Linked DNA regions of Homo sapiens: all the other regions are linked to region 3. Evidence: promoter capture Hi-C in 16 types of primary human blood cells and fetal thymus (Javierre and others, 2016). All regions are on one chromosome and are shown on one strand. The core of a region is centred on a gene start or on the middle of the fragment in contact, and the rest is flanking DNA. Distances in the headings are between cores, read along the strand shown.

Region 1 (2,700 bases), core at 201-2,700, 280 kb after region 3:
ATCGCTTGAACCCGGGAGGTGGAGGTTGCAGTGAGCTGAGATCGTGCCATTGCACTCCAGCCTGGGTATAGAGTGAGACTGTTCTCGAAAAAAAAAAAAAAAAAAAAAATTGAGTCAGTGGACTGGGAAAAGCAGACCCACCCTCAATCTGGGTGGGTGCAATCTAATCAGCTACCAGCACAGCCAGAATAAAAGCAGGCAGAAGAATGTGGAAAGACTAGACTGGCTTGGTCTTCTGGCCTGCATCTTTCTCCCATGCTGGATGCTTCCTGCCCTCAAACATCAGACTCCAAGTTCTTCAGCTTTGGGACTCTTGGACCTTCAGCCACAGACTAAAGGCTGCACTGTCAGCTTCCCTGCTTTTGAGGTTTTGGGACTCAGACTGACCTCCTCGCTCTTCAGCTTGCAGATGACCTATTGCGGGACCTCACCTGTGATCATGTGAGTCAATATTCCTTTAAAAACTCCCCTTTACATATACATCTATCCTATTAGTTCTGTCCCACTAGAGAACTCCGACTAACACAGATTTTGGGACCCTCTGCTTAAAACCTTCCATTGGCTCCCCACTATCGCAAAACAATTCTCACCTCCTAGCCGCAGCCTGTAAGGCCTTTTGTAATCTGCCCGCCATTACCTCTCCATCCTCCTCTCTTAGCATTCTTCCCCTCACTTGCTCTGTTCCATCCATTCTAGCCTCCCTGCTGTTACGGGAACACACTAAGCTTGTTCCTGCTCCAGAATCTTTGTACTTGCTGTTCCCTTTGCCCAGAATGCTCTTCCCCGGGGTGTCAATGTAGGTGGTTTCCTCTCTCCATTCGCTGGCTTGCCTCAAATATCACCCCCTCACAGAAGCCATCTGTGACCACCCAATCTGAAATAGTTGGAAAAGCTCACGCCCTCCCCCATACCACTTTAGCTATTGTGTGCGGGGCACTTAGCACATCGCCACCTGAAATGTATATGCTTACTTCTCTTTTTTTTGTTGTTGAGACAGAGTCTTGCTTCGCCGCCCAGGCTGGAGTGCAGTGGTACAATCCTGGCTCACTGCAACATCCACCTCACGGTTTCAAGCAATTCTCCTGCCTCAGGGTTCTGATGATTACAGGCACCTGCCACCATGCCCAGCTAATTTTTGTATTTTTAGTAGATACGGGGTTTTGACACGATGGCCAGGCTGGTCTCCAGCTCCTGGCCTCAAGTGATCCTCCTGCCTTGGCCTCCCAAAGTGTATAAGTTTACTTCTTGATCTGTCTGTTCAGGAGACTGTCAGCTTCTTGAGAGTAGTGAATTTTGTCTCTATTGTTCCCCGGTATATCCCAGGCTGCGGTCAGTGCCTGGCACATAGTAGATGCTCAATAGATATTTATCGATTGGAGGAACACAGCCCCACTCAACCCCAGGTTCCTACCGGGATACTCACGTCTACCACGGGGGTCTGGTTCACACCTGAAGCTGGAAACTGGGGGCTAATGTGAGCTCCTGTAGACGAGCCCCTAGTCCCAGACACTGTCTCCGCCATTAGCAGCACACAAAGCACACTCAGTGCCCAGCGCAGATTCAGCCTTCTGCCGGCCATCTGCCCCCACGGGGCCTGGCCCTTACTCTCCACTTCCCTTTCTGCAGTAGCTCAGTTCCAAACAGCTGGCGGCTCCGGTGGCCTGCAAGGTGGGAGTGAGAAAGGGGGACAACATTACTGAAAACCCATGGACACAGCAAAAGGGGCTGGAAGACTCTAGTTAAGGAACTGCCTTCCTGCCTCCCGGCAGCAAAGTTAAGCTGACGGAGAAACCATGTTCTGCACAGTCTCGCTGGAGGGGCCCAAGGCCCTGCCCATTCAGCGTGCAGATCAGATACGCCCTTCTTCCTGAGAACCCATGAAAACCTACCCAGTCCCACCTGGCCCCCAGCCTGAGGCCAGAATGCCAGGGCTGCAAGGGACTTGGGACTTGAGCCAAGATTCAGAGTCTCAGGCTTCTGGGGCAGGTGGGTGAGATACATGTGGGAAGTGGGCAGTGGGCGGGATTGCAGAAGCCCTCAAAACAAAACAAAACAAACTCTACTTCTAGGGGTGGACTTGGCCTCTGGGCCACCAGTTTGAGACGTAGAGAGGCTTGCCCACCACATTTTACAGAGCCCACTAAGCAATGCTGTTGTTCTGTGTCTTACAAGGAGCCAAGCTTTACATGGATGACCTCATTCTATCCTCACGACATGCCGAGCGGGGGTAGCACTAGCATTCCATTTTACAGATGAACTAACTGAGGCACAGACAGGTGAAGCCAGGCTTGTTTCCCCCCTGCATCACGCCTCCCTCATGCAGTCCTCAGAACAATTCTGGAAATGTCACCCCCCCGCCCCCCACCCCACCCTGCACAGCAGGGAGAGGGGCTCAGAGGAGTGTTTTTTGTTTTTTGTTTGTTTCTTCAGATGGAGTCTCACTCTGTTACCCAAGCTGGAGTGCAGTGGCGCGATCTCAGCTCACTGCAACCTCTGCCTCCCGGGTTCAAGTGATTCTCCTGCCTCAGCCTCCCGAGTAGCTGGGATTACAGGCACACACCACCATGCCCAGCTAATTTTTGTATTTTTAACGGAGACGGGGTTTCGCCATGTTGGCCAGGCTGGTCTGGAACTCCTAGCCTCAAGTGATCTGCCGGCCTTGACCTCTCAAAGTGCTGGGACTACAGGCGTGAGCCACCA
Region 2 (2,700 bases), core at 79-2,578, 410 kb after region 3:
GCTGCTGCCTAGCTAGGGCCAATCTGCCTGGCTGGCTGAGCCTAGCCATGAGGTGGGGAGCCCTTCTCCTAGGCTGGAAGGAGGAAGCAGAAAGGAGGGAACCTTCCACTGATTTCCAGTACCAATGGAGAGGCTTTCCAATCCACCGCTCTGGGACCCGCTGGAGCTAATCAGGAGCTGTGGACAGCAGGGCCTCATAGTGATGGACCCTAGAGAGCAGGGATGAGTTTCAGCCCCCCTAAACCTCTGGCCTGGCAGGCAGCAGGGGAATGTGAATAGAGGACAATCATAGATCCTGCAAGGCCAGGACAGGAATCTCTCAAATCCCCGCTTTCCCGCGTTCCTGATCTCATTCCTTTTCTTTCTTCTTTGAGCTCAGGGAGAAAGCCAGCCTCCCCCGAAATAGGAGATGGGTGAGGCTCAGGTTGGGGGTGGGGTGGGGGAGGACCCAGGACTCTAGGGACCCCACATCTACTCACACCCATGTCTCTAAACAGGGCGAATTTGGGTGACATTGATGTAGTGAGGGCATTAGAAGCCATAAGTCACTTTTGGCCTTATCCGGCAGCGTAATTGGCCATATGCACCTTATCAAAAATCATTAGGCACTTTGCAAGCACTGCTACATTAGGGGCATCGGGCCTCCGGGTCCAGGGAGTTAACACGTGTAAAGGAGCGGCTGACATTTTCTCCCATTCAAATTCTCAGTGCGGAGTCGCTGGGGCCGGCAGGCTGCCTTTCTCTGTGGCGTGATTCACGCCCCCATTCCTCAGCGCGGGGAATTCCTGTTCACAAAGCCGGCTCTGGGTGCCCAGAGGAAACAGGTAGGGCTCAGCTGCCCCAAACTCCAGTGGCTTCCAGGCTGGGGAAACTGAGGCCCAGAGAGGTGATCTGCCCTGGCCAGCCACAGGGCCCACAGGGGTAGGGGGGCTGGGGAGGTGCCACAGCCCAGTCTAGACCCCAGAGGTCCTGATTCTCAGCCTCGATTTCGTTTCTACTTTTCAACATGGGAGGAAATGTTTAAGGGGTTGGGAGGTGGGTGGGGGAGGTTCTCTCCTCCCATCACCAGGGGAGACCTTCCTCGCTGGGCCCCCTCTGGAGCTGAGAAGTTTCTGTTTGGGATTGCGGCCGATGGGCTCACACATTCTGCCTGGAGCGAGAAGCCTTCAGGCGTCTCTAACTCATGCAAAAATCCTTCCTCTCTCTCGGGACGGGGCTTGAAGCTTCTGTCTTGGGGTTGCAGCTGCTTGGAAGGGGCGGAGAGGAGTGGATAGCAAGTTTGTCAGGGCTTCCTCCCTCTGCCCCGCCAGCGCTCTGAGCCGGCCTCGAGCCAACGTGAGGCAGCGAAGCAGCGTCCTTCTTCCTCCGCCTGGGCTCGGGACCTTTCCTGGACCAAGGACAGGAGGAGAGCAAAGTGCTGCCCGCTCCCCATCTAAGCTTGTGATCCGGGGAGGCTGGGATGGGGATGGGGGTATCCCCTTCCCCAGCGCCCCAGTGGAGCGCGCGCAGGGTGGGCGCGCAGGCAGCAGAGCGGCGCGGCCTCTTACCTGAAAAAGTCATTTTTGCAGTAGAGCTTGCCCTCGCGCGAGAAGCACTTCTCCGAGAGGTTGGTTTTGCACTCGCAGCACTGAACACATTTGATGTGCCACGCGCGGTCCAGCACGTTCAGCAGAAAGCGGTCGAGGATGGGCCGCTCGCAACCGGCGCAGTGCACCATCATAGCCCCGCGCCCCGGCGGCTTCGGCCGCCTTGCCCTCCCTTTGGGCCCCTGGCCCTCGGGCCTGCCGGGCCCTCCGCTGCCCTTCGCCTCTTGTCTCAGCAGCTGCAGGGCGAGTCTGGTCCGGACCAAGACTCAGCCGGTCCAGTCCTTGGGCAATCTCTGGCCTGGCGCTGGGCTGCCCGGAGTGGGGTGGTGGGGGGCGGGTGGCGTTCACAACCTCATGCCACGGGCCGCACGCCCCGGCGCCTGTTCCGGGCTTCCCCAGGTATCTCGGGTGGCTGCTGGCCTCGGCGCTGCGGAGCGGCTTTCCCCGGTGGCGGAGGCGCCGGCACTTTCCCCCACTTTCAAGCGGTCCGGATCCTCATCTTTGTCTGGTCGCCGCGTAATTCGCGCATCCTTATTCAGATTTGGTGACGTGGCGCTGCACGTAGGGGGCCCAGCGGCCAATGGGCGCACCGTGGCCATGGCAACCTCTTAAATTTATAGCATATCTAAATTGGCTACAGCGTTGCTGTCCGGACAGAGCAAAAAAAACAAGGCATCAGTATTGTTGAGTATTAGCTTGTACCTGGTTCGGAGGCTAAGTAAGTATTTACCTTCCAGTTTGGGGCTGACGGGGCGGGGGCAGCGCGAAACGAAAATTGCGTCTCTCTTCCTCTCTCTTTCTCCTCACAAATATTTGGGGGTCACGGGTTCCAAGGCCTAGTCCGGGAGGTACCCCTGCCCCCTTCGCCATCCCTGGAACTTGCAGAAGTTGCCCCACGCCCCACACTTCGCTCCCCTTCTCCAGCCCAGCCAGCCCAGATTGGATTCCCCCACCCCCGCGCCCCCTCTGCGCCCTGAAGCTGCGTCAGCGCGGTTCTCCCGGCTCCTGGAGCCGGCCCCGGCTTCTTTTTGTCATACACGGGGCTGGGGCCCAGCCGGGCCTTTCTCATGGAGAGAGCTAGTGGAGACCGCGCGGCCTGGGTAGTTTTCCCCGC
Region 3 (2,700 bases), core at 111-2,610:
CCCTTCTTCCCAGACATACAAGACACACAATGCCTAGACACACAAGTTTGCCTGTAATGGGAGAGGGGGACTTCATGGACCCCAGAAGGCCATCCAGGGACCCTAGGCTAAAATCCCAGAACTCAGTGATCCTGTGGGAGTATCGTCAGACTTGGCCCTGCCCTATGCAAAGCCTCTCTCTTTAGTCTACAGCAGGTGAAAGCAAGCAGAATCATTGACCCAATCTGAAAAAGCCCATCCAACACTGGGCTGCAGGTCAGAGCAGGGGCCTGGGGAGGGGAGGTCCCTCCAGCTGGCCGGAGAGCCAGAGCTGGATTCTGGGAAAGCACCCCTGAGCAGCCTGCCCCTGACCCTGCCTAGTGTATCCCCATCTGCCCCGGGGAGGCAGGCGTGGGCTGCTCTGGGCAGGCGCCCAAACAGGCCACTGACCCCCGTCAGCCACCCAGGCTGGAGTTCCCGGACGCATCCTTCATCTTCCCCAATCTAAACACCCCCAGGCCCCAGGTGGTCCACCCCCCTCCCAGCCAATGTGTGTCTCAGCCGCATCCAGCTTGCTGGAGGACAGGGGGACTGGCCATCCCGTTAACACTTGAGCCGCTGCCATTTCCAGCCTTCCCTTCCATCCAACCAATGCTCACCCACCATTTATTGAGCACCAGTTGTTTGCAGGTGGCTGTGAATGACATGGCAGAGGGCCTGCCCTTCTCTTCCTCCAGGATCTCACCTCCTGGCCAGGGTCCCCTCCCCTGGTCCCACCCCTCTCACCTGGAGCAGGTGGGTGCTTTGGGGGAAGTGGGCTCAGGGCTGGGAACTGGGTACTGGCAGGAGATTCAGATCGGGGTTGGTGTCTGGGCATCGCTCTAAGCTTTTGTGATCCTGGGCCTGGCTCTTACTCTCTCTGGCTTCAGTCTCCTCATCTGTACTCTTCAGATTCCACGGTTCCAACTGAGTCTGAATCAGGCCTTGTCAGCACCCTCCCACCCCCAGGAATAGTTAGAGGAGGAAAGGAGGCTAGCTCTGAATGCTTCAAGATCTTTCTTTAGACAGTCTCTGGATCTTATTCATTCATTCAAGCATTTATTGAGCACCTATTCAGTGCCAGGCCCTGGACTGGGAGACTGGAAATAAAGATGACAAAGATTCAAGCCGGTGACTCCTAAACATCCCACTCCCTGCCTCACGCTCTGCTTGGGGTCAGAAGGCCCCTTGGGGTCTCGGGAGGGCCTGGCCGAGGATTTGGGGCGCCCCGAGACTCGCGTGTCAGCGCCGGTGGCGCTCAGGGCCGAGATCTGTCTCCTCCCCTTCCTCCTCCTCCGCCCCCTCCCCTCTCCCTCCCGGAGCACGGCCGAGGCCTCCTCCCACCCGCGAGATCCCGGCGGCCGCCAGCCGGCTCCTGCGTCCGTCCGTCGGCCGGGCAGTCTGTCCACGCGCGGAAAGCTCGGCGCGGCGGCCGAGGGGCCTGGGAGGGAACGGGCGCGGAGGCGGGACCGCGGCTCCCTCCCACTCCGGGGGGAGCCCAGGAGGCGGCGGTGCTGGAGCGCGAGCCGGAGCCGGAGCCGGAGACGAAGAGAGGCGGTGAGAACGCGGGTGCTTAGGGACCCCACCCCCGGCTCCCGCTGGGGGCCCGCGAGCGGCTCGGGGACGTCTGGGCTGGGGAAGCGGGGCTGTTACCCCCAGGGCGGGAGGCAGAGACGATCCAGCTCCTGGCTTCGCCCCCTCCGCGACGCGACCCCCGAGGGGCCCTGGGCCGCGCCTGCAGCGCCGCGCATCCCCGTGCTTCCCGGCGCACCCCAGCGCACCCGGCATCCCCCCGGCAGGGCGAGGGCCCCGGGGGAAGGGAAGGCTCCGGGAGCCAAGGAGGGCGCCCCCCAGGCGGAGAGTCTCGGAAAACCGCGCCCCCGGCCCCTGCCTTCCCTCCAGGCCTGCCCCAAGGGAAAGCGGGCGGGGCGACCCCGTACGCCCCCCTTGCTGTCCCCCTTCGGTTCCCCATTGTTCTCAGCCGAATGCTCTCCTGGGAAGGGGGGAGGGGGTGCTGCGCTCTCCTCTTAAAGGGCCCTCTCCCCTCTTGTCTCCTGGCAGGTCGCGAGCACGAGTGGGGTGGGGCGTGCCCACGGGCCCCCGCCCCCCTCGTCCCCCTCGTCCCCCAGCCCAGCTCCGGAGCCGCAGTCCAGGCGCGCCGCCCGAGGGTCCACGCCGCACCCCTCCCCCGTGCGTTCTGCGGCCACCCAGGCCTTCCAGGACACCGTGGAGAGGGAACAAGGGGGCAGGGACGCCCCCTTCGGCAGGAGCCGTCGGAGAAGGGGGCCCAGACCGGAGGGAGGCGAGAAGCCCCACTGAAGCCGGGCGCAGGGTCTGGGACGCAGTTGGGAGTGCAAAGGGCTGGCTGAGAGCCGCAGGAGCAGCAGGCTGTGGCCCAGGCCTCCTGGGTGACAGGCCCTGTCTGGCGGGGAAGAGGGACCAAGAGACAACACGGAAGAGGCTGGACCTCGAACAGGGGCGGCTGCCTCACTCCCTACCTGAGCCAGCCGAGGGGGCCAAGGACTTTAGAGCTGTTTCCTCCGGCATAAGAGAGACACTTGCTTTCCAGGGCAGCACCCTTTATCGGAGAAGGCTCTACAGGGAAGGGGTCTTTGCAGCCTGGATGGCCATCCCACATTCCTTTAACGGAGGTCTCTAGGCCTCAGAGAGAACCCAGAGTTA

Evidence for each region. Contacts are between HindIII fragments. The CHiCAGO score rates a contact against its expected background, and 5 or more counts as called.
Region 1: a contact is called between a fragment that was not itself captured here and the fragment with the promoter of DTX1 in region 3, in 5 of 17 cell types (naive CD4 T cells, naive B cells, naive CD8 T cells and 2 more). The highest score is 7.9, in naive CD4 T cells.
Region 2: a contact is called between a fragment that was not itself captured here and the fragment with the promoter of DTX1 in region 3, in 1 of 17 cell types (total B cells). The highest score is 5.4, in total B cells.

The regions. Positions count from the first base shown.
Region 1 is chr12:113,331,300-113,333,999 of GRCh38, forward strand. It overlaps SLC8B1 (solute carrier family 8 member B1), which reads right to left. Exons shown (of 16, transcript NM_001358345.2): 2 at 1,424-1,661. The coding sequence starts at 1,579. Among named protein-coding and RNA genes, the nearest start is that of SLC8B1, 2.5 kb to the right of the region's middle. The HindIII fragment of the contact is 1,455 bases long and covers 724-2,178 here.
Region 2 is chr12:113,469,779-113,472,478 of GRCh38, forward strand. It overlaps LHX5 (LIM homeobox 5), which reads right to left and starts at 2,093. Exons shown (of 5, transcript NM_022363.3): 1 at 1,548-2,093. The coding sequence starts at 1,720. It overlaps LHX5-AS1 (LHX5 antisense RNA 1), which reads left to right and starts at 2,225. Exons shown (of 2, transcript NR_126425.1): 1 at 2,225-2,304. RefSeq lists an enhancer at 1,175-1,975. The HindIII fragment of the contact is 214 bases long and covers 1,222-1,435 here.
Region 3 is chr12:113,055,370-113,058,069 of GRCh38, forward strand. It overlaps DTX1 (deltex E3 ubiquitin ligase 1), which reads left to right and starts at 1,361. Exons shown (of 10, transcript NM_004416.3): 1 at 1,361-1,575; 2 at 2,080-2,700. RefSeq lists an enhancer at 2,599-2,700. The HindIII fragment of the contact is 5,893 bases long and covers 864-2,700 here.